Linked DNA regions of Homo sapiens: all the other regions are linked to region 1. The links are contacts of gene promoters, found by promoter capture Hi-C in blood cells and fetal thymus (Javierre and others, 2016). All regions are on one chromosome and are shown on one strand. The core of a region is centred on a gene start or on the middle of the fragment in contact, and the rest is flanking DNA. Distances in the headings are between cores, read along the strand shown. Region 1 holds the start of ADAMTS8 (ADAM metallopeptidase with thrombospondin type 1 motif 8). Region 2 has its middle 15 kb from the start of MIR8052. Region 3 overlaps LINC02873 (long intergenic non-protein coding RNA 2873). Region 4 overlaps ST14 (ST14 transmembrane serine protease matriptase).

Region 1 (2,700 bases), core at 140-2,639:
GGGAAGTTCATCCTTTCATCTAATTCACAGCTGTCCCTCTGTGTTTCTGAGAAAGCAAAGAGAGGGGGGATACTTAGAGGGAATTTGGCAGCACTTTCCCCTGGGCAAGAGCCTCCTCTTTGGAGGTAACAAGCCCTGAGAGTCTCAGATGCATGCTGAACCACCACACTGCAGGAAGGGGTCAGATGGGCTGAAAAGAATCAGCGATGACCTCGACTGTCAACATCCCCAGCATAAGCACAGAGCTGGGTACCTGGGGGCAGGTGAATTGGCAAAGGATTTAAAGGCCCTGATCCCAGCGGTTCCTAATGCATCACCCACATTGACAACTCAGAGAAAGGCACAGTTGGTGGATGAGTCTAGAGTTTGTAGGTAGAGAACAGGGCCCTCCACCCAATCCAGACCTGTGTCATTGAGACTGGGATGGGATGCAGTTTTGTGGTCTTGAGACCATGTCATCCCTCTCTTCCTGAATACTACCCCCTTCCCTAGGGGGCAGTGGTGACATGGGACAGAATAAATTCACCTCATACACATTTGTTCCTGGGGCTGTGGCAACGCAGTGAAAGGGCCTGCCACCTTACTTGAAGTCCCGGGCAACTAGCAGTATCCAGAAGAGAAGACCTTTTTCAGGGACTGGAGGTCTGTTTCCCTCTTGGGGAAATGCTAACTTCCAACCTCAGTGCTGGTAACTTACCACTGTGCTGGCCTCTGCCCCACCTGCCCTCTAACAGGACAGTGAGAGTCCCTCTTAGGGTTAACCAGGTGGGTTGTTTTTTGTTTTGTTTTTGTTTTCCCCATCTTCAGTTTGGAGTGAAAGTTAGGAAGGCTGTGCAGTAGTGATGAGAGGAGGGCATGATTTTAGCATGACCTTTTCCTCCTCTCCCTTTATGCTTTACAATGAAAAGCTCAGGAACCTTCTCCCCACACAGTCGGATCTCCGGAGGCATCTGCAGGGATCCCAACAGTGTCGGGCTCTGCAGTCGGACTCTGCAGGGATCCGAACAGGGTCGCTGAGACCAGTGCACGAGCCTCTTCGGAAGATGCATCCTGGACTCTTGGCCGCAGAGGAGAAAGCGGTTGGGGTCTCCCAGGGACTCTTTCTAAAGGGTCAGTCCAGCATGGTAGGGGTTAACGTGGGTCCACGCGTAGAGGGAAAGGAAAGAAGTTGTAGTTGACACTTCAGGGGGGCGGGTGGCGGACGGGTCTCGCTGCCTGATTGGTTTTGCATTTCATCCCAATTTTTTTTTCTCCACTCTCTCTCCCTCTTTTCAGTTTCTCTCTCTGATCCCAGGGGAGGGGAAACGGGAATAGTGAGAGATCAAAAATAAACCTCTTATGTCAAGCCGGGAAGGAAGTATAAATAAGAAGGGCTCGGCAGCCCACTCGGTGCTTCCCGGGGTGGGGAGGAGGCAGGAGGCGGCTGCGCGGGGCTGGCGCGGGCAGGGGCGGAGGACGGGCGCACGCGGGCCGGGGCCAGCTGCTCGCGCTCGGCTCGGGGGCGGCGGCGCGGGAGGAGCGGGCTGCGCCAGCCAGAGGGGCCGCCGGGGGAGCGCTCCCGCCGCCGGGCCCCGCGGGCCGAGTCGGCCTTGCACCCGATTGATTCCGCTTTTCCTGGAGAGAGCGGCCGGGCCGCGCTCGGGCCGCCAGCACCTGCCCGCGCCTGGCGGGCTTCTTCCCTCTCCTGCGCGCAGCCACCGCCGCAGCCCCCATGCTCCCCGCCCCCGCCGCCCCCCGGTGGCCTCCGCTCCTGCTGCTGCTGCTGCTGCTGCTGCCGCTGGCCCGCGGCGCCCCGGCCCGGCCCGCAGCCGGGGGGCAGGCCTCGGAGCTGGTGGTGCCCACGCGGTTGCCCGGCAGCGCGGGCGAGCTCGCGCTCCACCTGTCCGCCTTCGGCAAGGGCTTCGTGCTGCGCCTGGCGCCCGACGACAGCTTCCTAGCGCCCGAGTTCAAGATCGAGCGCCTCGGGGGCTCCGGCCGGGCGACCGGGGGCGAGCGGGGGCTGCGCGGCTGCTTCTTCTCCGGCACCGTGAATGGGGAGCCCGAGTCGCTGGCGGCGGTCAGCCTGTGCCGCGGGCTGAGCGGCTCCTTCCTGCTGGACGGCGAGGAGTTCACCATCCAGCCGCAGGGCGCGGGGGGCTCCCTGGCTCAGCCGCACCGCCTGCAGCGCTGGGGTCCCGCCGGAGCCCGCCCCCTCCCGCGAGGACCCGAGTGGGAGGTGGAGACGGGAGAGGGTCAGAGGCAGGAGAGAGGAGACCACCAGGAGGACAGCGAGGAGGAGAGCCAAGAAGAGGAGGCAGAAGGCGCTAGCGAGCCGCCACCGCCCCTGGGGGCCACGAGTAGGACCAAGCGGTTTGTGTCTGAGGCGCGCTTCGTGGAGACGCTGCTGGTGGCCGATGCGTCCATGGCTGCCTTCTACGGGGCCGACCTGCAGGTAGGACTGAGAGCCTCCTCCAGCCGCCGTGCCCGGAGGCCCCCCAGACGCCTCCCAGCGTCTCTAAAATCTCCCCTTCCAATCCCTCTGAGAAAAAAAAAAAAAAAAAAAAAAAGCCCTCCCCACTCATCTTCTCCAGCCTTACCCCAAACGAGATTCTCTCCTGTCTGAGAAAGAGCAGTAACTCTTTTCTGAACTTCTGCCACCCTGGATCCCTGCGCCCCCACCCCCAGGTCCCTTCCAGTTTAGAGTGGGGCTGCCGACGCCCA
Region 2 (2,700 bases), core at 169-2,668, 220 kb before region 1:
AGCCATGCTCATTCATTTACTGCTGCCTACAGCTGCCCTCATGCTACGACAGCAGTGTAGTAGTTCGGTTAGTAACCACATGAAAGCCAGGCCTAAAATATTTACTGTCTTTCCCTTTATAGAAAGTTCACCATCCCTTGTTGTAGATGGTTGCTGGGTGATTTCAGCAAAAATATCAAACCACGTCTTACTTTCTTTTTTAAAAAAGTACGAAACATGGATAATCTGAGATACGTTGATGCTTTCTTTGGACAATCTAAGACACTGCTTAGGTGCATTAACATCACATAATAATAACAACAATAAACCTACTCAATCAACAGGTCTATTATTGGGAGGGAAGGGACATTTATACCTTTGGCATTGTTTTTACCAGACAGAAAACTTAATTAGACAAGGGTTTTATTCATAAGAAATAAGGCCTATGTTACATTCATAAGGATAAGGGGAATACAAACTTCTCTTAAAAACTAGATGAGCAGGCCGGGGGCGGTGGCTCATGCCTGTAATCCCAGCACTGTGGGAGGCCAAGGCGGGCAGATCACGAGGTCAGGAGATCGAGAGCATCCTGGCTAACACGGTGAAACCTTGTCTCTATTAAAAATTAATCAGGTGTGGTGGCGTGGTGGCGGGCACCTGTAGTCCCAGCTATGCAGGAGGCTGAGGCAGGAGAATCGCGTGAACCTGGGAGGCGGAGCTTGCAGGGAGCAGAGATCACGCCACTGCACTCCAGCCTGGGCGACAGAGGGAGACTCCGTCTCAAAAAAAAAAAAAAAAAAAAAAAACTAGATGAGCAGAGGGCAGAATGAGTATGGGAGAAATTAATCTTTATTCTTATAGACAAATCAACTCTACCCTGGAGTGGAAGTTCTTCATCATTTTCTAGCTCATCTCATCCTCGTTCATGGGGAAATCAGAGTCTATCTTCCTGTCACTCCCACTATCCTCTCCTCCCCAAAACCCAGCAAAAACCGCTGAACCCAGAGCTTAACGGAAAGAAGGAAAAACAGTGAATTCTTGCAAGGTCTGAGGCTCTAGAATGTGCAAGGCCCAACAATGAGCGAGAGAACTAATCCATTATCCCATTATCCTATAGAGGGGCAATGAGTCCCAGCGAAATGCTGAGTGCCACCCCCTCGATCACCAGCCCCCTCCCCAACCCCCCGCCAACACAGGGACTTTGGCACAAAGAGTCTGAAACAAGAAAGTAATGGGAAGTGACAGAAAGATAGGAAACAAAGGCACAGCCATCCAGGTGGGGCACTCTCTGAGCGTTTAGTGGTCGGCCTTCTCCCAAGTAGTGAAATCAACCAAGTAGCTAAATCAACATGGGATGGTGTGTGTGTGTGTGTGTGTGTGCGCACACATGCACCTCTGCAGTTCCTATGCCCAAGGGAGGGTGTTACCCTCCATACCAGTTATTGCTGTATAACAAGCCAGCCCAGTGATTTATCAGCTCACAAATCTATACATAATTAAGTTGGGTTGAGCTGAGCAGTTCTTCTCCTAGTCTCTCCTGAATCATTCATGCAGCTCTAGTCAGCTGGAGGATCAGCTGGGGGCTGGCTGGTCTAAGATGGCATCATCTGCCCTCCTGGCAGTTGGTGCTAGCTGCTGCCTACGCTTTATGCCTCTAGCTGCTCTGTGGGGGAGGAAGGGTCTGCAGCAGCAAGAGAAGGCAAGTCCCAATGCACAAGCACCTGGCAAGCCTCATGTCCCATCACATTTGCTAACATCACGTTCACCAAAACTAGCTCCCTGGCCAAGCCCAGTTTGAAGGAGTGAAGTAAGCCTCCACTTCATGGTGGCAGAAACAGCAAACTTGCCGTGCACAGGACATGCACACGGGGATGGGAGGAATCTGTGGTCATATTTAACAATCTATCACGCCATCCTAATTCTGAGTCCACAGAGGATGAAGTTGAGATTGGAACATGTCATGTATCTGCATGTTGTTAAGCTGTGAAGCATCAGAGGAAGGACTCTGGTCTTTGGAGTGAGTCAGAGAAACTTGGGATCAAAGCCTAGCTTCACTGCTTGCTTACTGTGACACCAAACATACCACTTAATCTGAGTCCATTTCCTCATTGGTAAAATGGTGGTGGTGTTATCTACTGCCCAGAGTGGAGTGCCTGACACAGTACCTGCCACAGAGGTCATCGAGGGTCTCAACTTCCACCCGCAGTTATCTGTGGCTCCGCGGATGAGTATGTTTCATGGTCAGCAACTCTAATGGGGCGAGAGTGCAGGGGCTTGGCTTTTCTGAGCAAGGAGTTTAGTGTCTGATAAATAGCAACACACTCATCTCCTATGTGCAGCTTCTCACATCAAAACCCACATGCCATGTGGAACTGTTTGGGCTCGGAGGGCCTGAATGCCTGAGGGCCCTCTAGACTTCAGTCTCTGAGAGGCCCCAACTCACACCACCCAGGAAGGAGAGAAGTGGGGCAATCGGGCGAGGGGCATTAACCTCTTAAACGCTGACTTTCTCCATTGTCCAGTCTTACAGATTGGGCCGTCAAGAAACTGTGTCCACACAGAAAGGGGTTTGGCAGAGGGAGAGGCCTGATCTTGTCTAGATTCTATTAAGGGGCTTGCACACAGACATTCAGCTTTGGAGCTAACCACAAGAAGGGCACTTGGAGGGCTCATGCCGGGCAACGGTGAATTTGCCAGAAAACTGGAAGTCACAGAGCACTA
Region 3 (2,700 bases), core at 118-2,617, 250 kb before region 1:
ACATACCTATTTATCTTTCTAATTAATTATTTCCTGTGTGCTAAGTTATGGGGTCACCAAATCTAGGCTAATCAAAGCTTATATTTGTTTTTGACCCAAGACCAGCATTCTTTTGGCACTACCACTGCTCTTTTCCTATTTCTGCAATCCATTCTGCCTACTTGAAAAGACAGCTTTAAAAGACAACTTAGCCCCACAGACAATAGATAATTTACTTTGGAACACTCAGCCTTCTCAGATTTTAGCTTTCAAACACAGTAGACTCAGCTGATAGAAGTAATGAAACCACCACATGCAACCTTCCTTGAAATACTTGTGATTATTGGTTTTTAGCTCTCTACATATATTTGTGTAAATGTACCTATGTATTTTTGAACTATATCTCTTGACCAATTCAGCCAACTGCAGTGATAGGAAAGGAAATGGTTAGGAATGAGGGGTGAACAATAATTACCTGCTCTTTTCTTTGTCTGTGTTTAGAACCAACTGAGACTGGAAGATCCAAATATCAACTTAATTACTGACAAAACTGTTCGAAAACGTAACCTAAATTTGCAGCAATAACAGGCTTCCTAACACCAAGTTCTGAAATTCAACAGACTTAACCACTCAGCCATAGCAGTTCCAGCCCATCAGCAAAAGCAGAACCTACCCTCTAAAATCTCTGCTGCAGAAGCAGAGCAGAATGTTAGTGCCTCAGGTAGATACAAGGAGCATGAAGAGAGGGGAGGGGCTGAGCTGCGCTTGCTCAGTTCCTGATCCCCGATTTACCAATCAGAATGATTGCTTCCCCTTCAAGTACACCTTGATTTACAAATCTTCTGGGAACCAAGTTCTTTTGAAAAGAGACAATCTGAGCAAAGAGAGGGCCTCCCCAGCTGGATGCACAGAGGCTGCCACTGAGGAGAGACAGCAGGCTGCTGCCTAACTTTCCAAGGGAAGAGAGAAAGGAGGTGTCCTGATGCAACAGGGAGAGAAACCACAGCCTGGCACATACCATCATGCCTCACATTCCATTGCTGCCCCTGGTAACGGTTTCTGACAACAAAATGTGGCTGGAATGCATACTCGTGTTAAATTACTGCTCTTGCCTGAGATAAGATAAAAGACATTTCTCTTGTTTGGGCTACTAAACAGAAAGTAGATCATAGGTGGTACTGCATAATGGCTCAGGAGCCAGGTTGCCAGCATTGTTATCCCTACTCTGTGTCCTAAGACGAATTACTTAAGCTCTTGGTGCTTTGGTTTCTTCCTCTGAAATAAAGTGAATGTTGATAGTGCCTACCTCATAGGGTTGTTTTGAGGCTTACATAAATTAATAGATGTAAACTACTTAGAACAGGATCTCTGAGTGCTTCATAATTCTTGGCCATCATTACCTGAGTCTCAGTTATCTTTACTAAAGAGAAGACGAGGAGGGATGAACTATTCAGAAATCGGCTTCTTATACAGAAACATACTCCCTTAAACATATATTGCTCATTTTCCAGTCCCAATATCCTCTGCTTTGGAGAGCCTGGGAGTTGAATGGGGATATATTAGGAATATATTAGGAAAAATTTGTAAGAACACCACTGAGATTTGGCAGTGAGAGGAAAGGCATGTGATTGCAGCATTCCGCTATGTGTACATGGGTCATTCAAATTCCCATTTCCTCTCCTTTCTAAAAGCTGCCATGACACCCATCAACCCAAGTCATGGCTCACCCTGCTTCATATGTGAGGGGAGGGTGGGAAGAGTACAGAGTGGGTGGTTCCTTGAAGTCAAGGGCTTCTCTCCCTACGTGTGAGTCTTGTTACTTCAGAATGGACCATGGGCTTCGCCATGGTTGAGACCAAGGCAGGGTATAACTGCTTCCAGCTCTAAGGGCTTTTGCTGGACTATTAAGAGGAATTGAATCATTGGCAGCTCAAGAGGGGCCAGGCAGGGCTGGGGCTGGGCAGGAGAGAGAAAACCAACCCCACATGAGGGGTCAGGAGCCAAATGGCAGGCCAGAGCCAGTATCTAATGGCTGTGGCTCAGAAGCCAGGGGAGCACAAAGGAGCTAAGCAGGCCACTGGGATGATCCGAGCTGCAGGACAAAGTGGGCTGACAGGGGGTCTCCAATCCCAGCAAGACCACCTTTCAGGCTCTCCAAAGGAGTCCCAGCAGAGAAATAAAGGTAGCATACAGATCAGTCAATAGGTTGTCGGATGAATTCAGAAGCAAGAACTAAGGGTTTGACAGTAGGTTAGGGCAGGACTCTGAGCACCAAAGATTGTCAGGGCTTCCTGGGGGTCCTATATACTGGGGTACTGGTAAGGAAACTGAGACGGAACCCTTATACCCCAGGAGTTGGCCTTCTTTGTGGAGACTGACATTTGGAACATAAAGTAATAATTGTAATTGCTGTTACCATTTATTAGATATCTACTCTGCCAGGAACTGGGCTTACATTCACATTTTTTGTCTCTTTGAATCCTTACAATAACCTCAGAAGCACTGATATTATCCTTCACACACTGGGATGTAAGTTCTATGCCTTGGGCCAAGGGGCTTGGTTTGTTTCATTCCCAGCTATGTACTCAGAACCAAAAATAGCATGTGCCAGTCCAGAAAAGGAACTTAATATTTGCCGCATATTTATCTCTGTTTTCCAGTGAGGGCACTAAAGCTTAGAAAGGTAAAGTGCCTTTCACAGAGTTCCACAGATTGTGAACA
Region 4 (2,700 bases), core at 177-2,676, 220 kb after region 1:
GCCCGAACTTTTCAAAAATGTCAATGCCATAAAAAACCAAAAAATAAAAGGCGTAGAGAAACTGTTCTTGATTAAAATGAGGTTAAAGAAACCTAATGACTAAATACAAGGCGTGACCCTTGACTGCATCCTAGGACTTTTTTTAAAAAGCTCCGAAGAAGGCTGGGCATGGTGGCTCACGCCTGTAATCCTAGCACTTTGGGAGCCCCAGGCGAGAGGATCACAAGGTTGGGAGTTTGAGACCAGCCTGGCCAACGTGGTGAAACCCCGTCTCTACTAAAAATACAAAAATTAGCCAGGCGTGGTGGCAGGTGCCTGTAATTCCAGCTACTCAGGAGACTGAGGCAAGAGAATCACCTGAACCTGGGAGGTGGAGGTTGCAGTGAGCTTAGATTGTGCCACTGCACTCCAGACTGGGCGAAAGAGTGCGTCTCAAAAAAAAAAACAAAAAAAAAAACGTCTAAAGAAGAACATGATGGGCATGATTGGAGGACATTTATGACGCGTACGTCAGCTCGCAGCACAAAGCAATGCCGCCATTTCTCAGTGTGGGACAGCATCCGTGTTTTTGGAGACACAGGCCGAGGCACCTGGTGGGAAGCCTCACAATGGCTGCCCCCAGTTGGGAAATGGTTCTGAAAAATACATGCGGGTGCAAACAGAGAGAAAGCAAACGTGATTAACTCAATCACTGAATGTAGATCAAAGGTATAAGAGTGTTCACTGTACAGCCAGGTGCGGTGGCTCACACCTGTAATCCCAGCACTTTGGGAGGCCAAGGCATGGGGGGATCACGAGGTCACGAGTTCGAGACCAGGCAGGCCACCATGGTGAAACCCCATCTCCACTAAAAATACAAAAATTTAGCCGGGCAAGGTGGCGCACACCTGTAGTCCCAGCTACTCCGGAGGCTGAGGCAGGAGAATTGCTTGAAGCCGGGAGGCAGAGGTTGCAGTGAGCTGAGATCACGCTGCTGCACTCCAGCCTGGGGACAGAGTGAGACTCTGTCTCAAAAAAAAAAGTGTTCACTGTACTAGTCCTTTTTTTCATTCATTGTATTTACAACATTTTTGTAGGTTTGAAAAATTTCAAAATAAAACATTGGAAAAATACATATTTAAAATAGAAAATGTGCGTGACAAGAGAAAGGCATGAAGACCCGCTTCATTTTCCCTCACCTCTCAGGAAGGTCAAAAGGTTACTGAACCACCCAGCCAGGGCACCTCCCCGACCCCGGAGCACTAAACCCAGCCTCTGCCTCCACATCACTCGCGTGCCCACCCGAGCCCTGGTCCACTCTCACTGCCCCAGCGTCCATCACCTTCTGGCCTTTCTTTTTTCTTGAGATGGAGTCTTACTCTGTTGCCTAGGCTGGAGTGTAGTGGCATGATCTTGGCTCACCACAACCTCCGCCTCCCAGACTCAAGCGATCCTCCCACCTCAGCCGCCCCCAAGTAGCTGGGAGTGCAGGTGCATGCCACCATGCTCAGCTAATTTTTGTATTTTTAGTAGAAATGGGGTTTCACCATGTTGGTCAGGCTGGTCTCGAACTCCTGACCTCAGGTGATCTGCCTGCTTCGGCTTCCCAAAGTGCTGGGATTATAGGCATGAGCCACCGCGCCAGGCCCCCTTCTGGCCTTTCTTACAGCCACCTCCCCACGGAATCGCACGCCAAGGCCAAAGCTCAGTTTTCCAACCTAGGCTATGCCCAATCTCGCTTCACTGTAATCTGTTGCCACCAGAAAATGACTTCCCAAAAGCTGTTTTTGTGAGATCCTTTGCGTCCCATTCCACAGCCTAAAAGAATTCCCAAGAGTTGCCAGGTGAGGTCTTGTGACCCACCCAGGCCTTCTGCGTTCACTGTTAATCGACCTGACCTTTCTAACAGTTTCCCAGCCTGCTCACATCCAGCCACGTACTCAACCCCCATCAACTCATTCACTCAACAATCTCTGGGCATCTGTGATGCGATCTATGACCCAGCCTTCAGGTTCACAGTGTACATGTGGAGAGATATGAAAACCACCAATTACAGCGTGACAAGAAGGGTCCCACAGAGGACTGGGTAGAAAGCTGTGGGAGAGGATGGGCTGGGAGTCCGGAAACGAAGTGAGTTATGAACCAAGCCTCGACATCACGTAGGCCTGGCCACCTATGGCCTGAAGGGGTGGAGAATGCCGCATGTTTAAAGAGAACAAAGGTGGCCGGGCGTGGTGGCTCACACCTTATAATCCCAGCACTTTGGGAGGCCAAGGCAGGCAGATCACCCGTGGTCAGGAGTTCAAGACCAGCCTGGCTAACATGGTGAAACCCCGTTTCTACTAAAAGTACAAAAAATTAGCCGGGCACGGTGGCGCATGCCTGTAATTCCAGCTACTCGGGAGGGTGAGGCAGGAGAATTGCTTGAACCCGGGAGGCGGAGGTTGCAGTGAGCTGAGATCGCGCCATTGCACTCCAGCCTGGGCAACAAAAGTGAAACTCGGTCTCAAAAAAAAAGAAAAAAGAGCAAAGGCACATTTAGGAAACCCTCACACTGAGCATGGGGAAGGCATGAGGACTGCACTGGAGACTGAGACTGCACGGACGGGCAGGGGCCAGATAACGTGGCCGTGTCGGTCGTGAAGGAGTTCCTGCTTTATACTGCAAGCCGTGGCAGGCGCTGAAGCAAGAGATTGGGGTGATCAGATTTGGGGAAGGCCC

The links. The method cuts DNA at HindIII sites, captures the fragments that hold promoters and counts their contacts. A CHiCAGO score of 5 or more calls a contact.
Region 2: a contact is called between a fragment that was not itself captured here and the fragment with the promoter of ADAMTS8 in region 1, in 1 of 17 cell types (M0 macrophages). The highest score is 5.4, in M0 macrophages.
Region 3: a fragment that was not itself captured here is called in contact with the fragment with the promoter of ADAMTS8 in region 1 in 1 of 17 cell types (M0 macrophages); the score reaches 6.0 in M0 macrophages.
Region 4: a fragment that was not itself captured here is called in contact with the fragment with the promoter of ADAMTS8 in region 1 in 1 of 17 cell types (naive CD8 T cells); the score reaches 5.1 in naive CD8 T cells.

Annotation. Positions count from the first base shown.
Region 1 is chr11:130,427,298-130,429,997 of GRCh38, reverse strand. ADAMTS8 (ADAM metallopeptidase with thrombospondin type 1 motif 8) reads left to right here and starts at 1,389. Exons shown (of 9, transcript NM_007037.6): 1 at 1,389-2,431. The coding sequence starts at 1,712. The HindIII fragment of the contact is 10,262 bases long and covers 1-2,700 here.
Region 2 is chr11:130,650,175-130,652,874 of GRCh38, reverse strand. No RefSeq gene overlaps it. Among named protein-coding and RNA genes, the nearest start is that of MIR8052, 15 kb to the left of the region's middle. The HindIII fragment of the contact is 8,367 bases long and covers 1-2,700 here.
Region 3 is chr11:130,675,979-130,678,678 of GRCh38, reverse strand. The region is part of intron 1 of LINC02873 (long intergenic non-protein coding RNA 2873); the gene reads right to left. Among named protein-coding and RNA genes, the nearest start is that of LINC02873, 4.4 kb to the right of the region's middle. The HindIII fragment of the contact is 2,576 bases long and covers 80-2,655 here.
Region 4 is chr11:130,203,457-130,206,156 of GRCh38, reverse strand. The region is part of intron 16 of ST14 (ST14 transmembrane serine protease matriptase); the gene reads right to left. Among named protein-coding and RNA genes, the nearest start is that of ST14, 45 kb to the right of the region's middle. The HindIII fragment of the contact is 5,888 bases long and covers 1-2,700 here.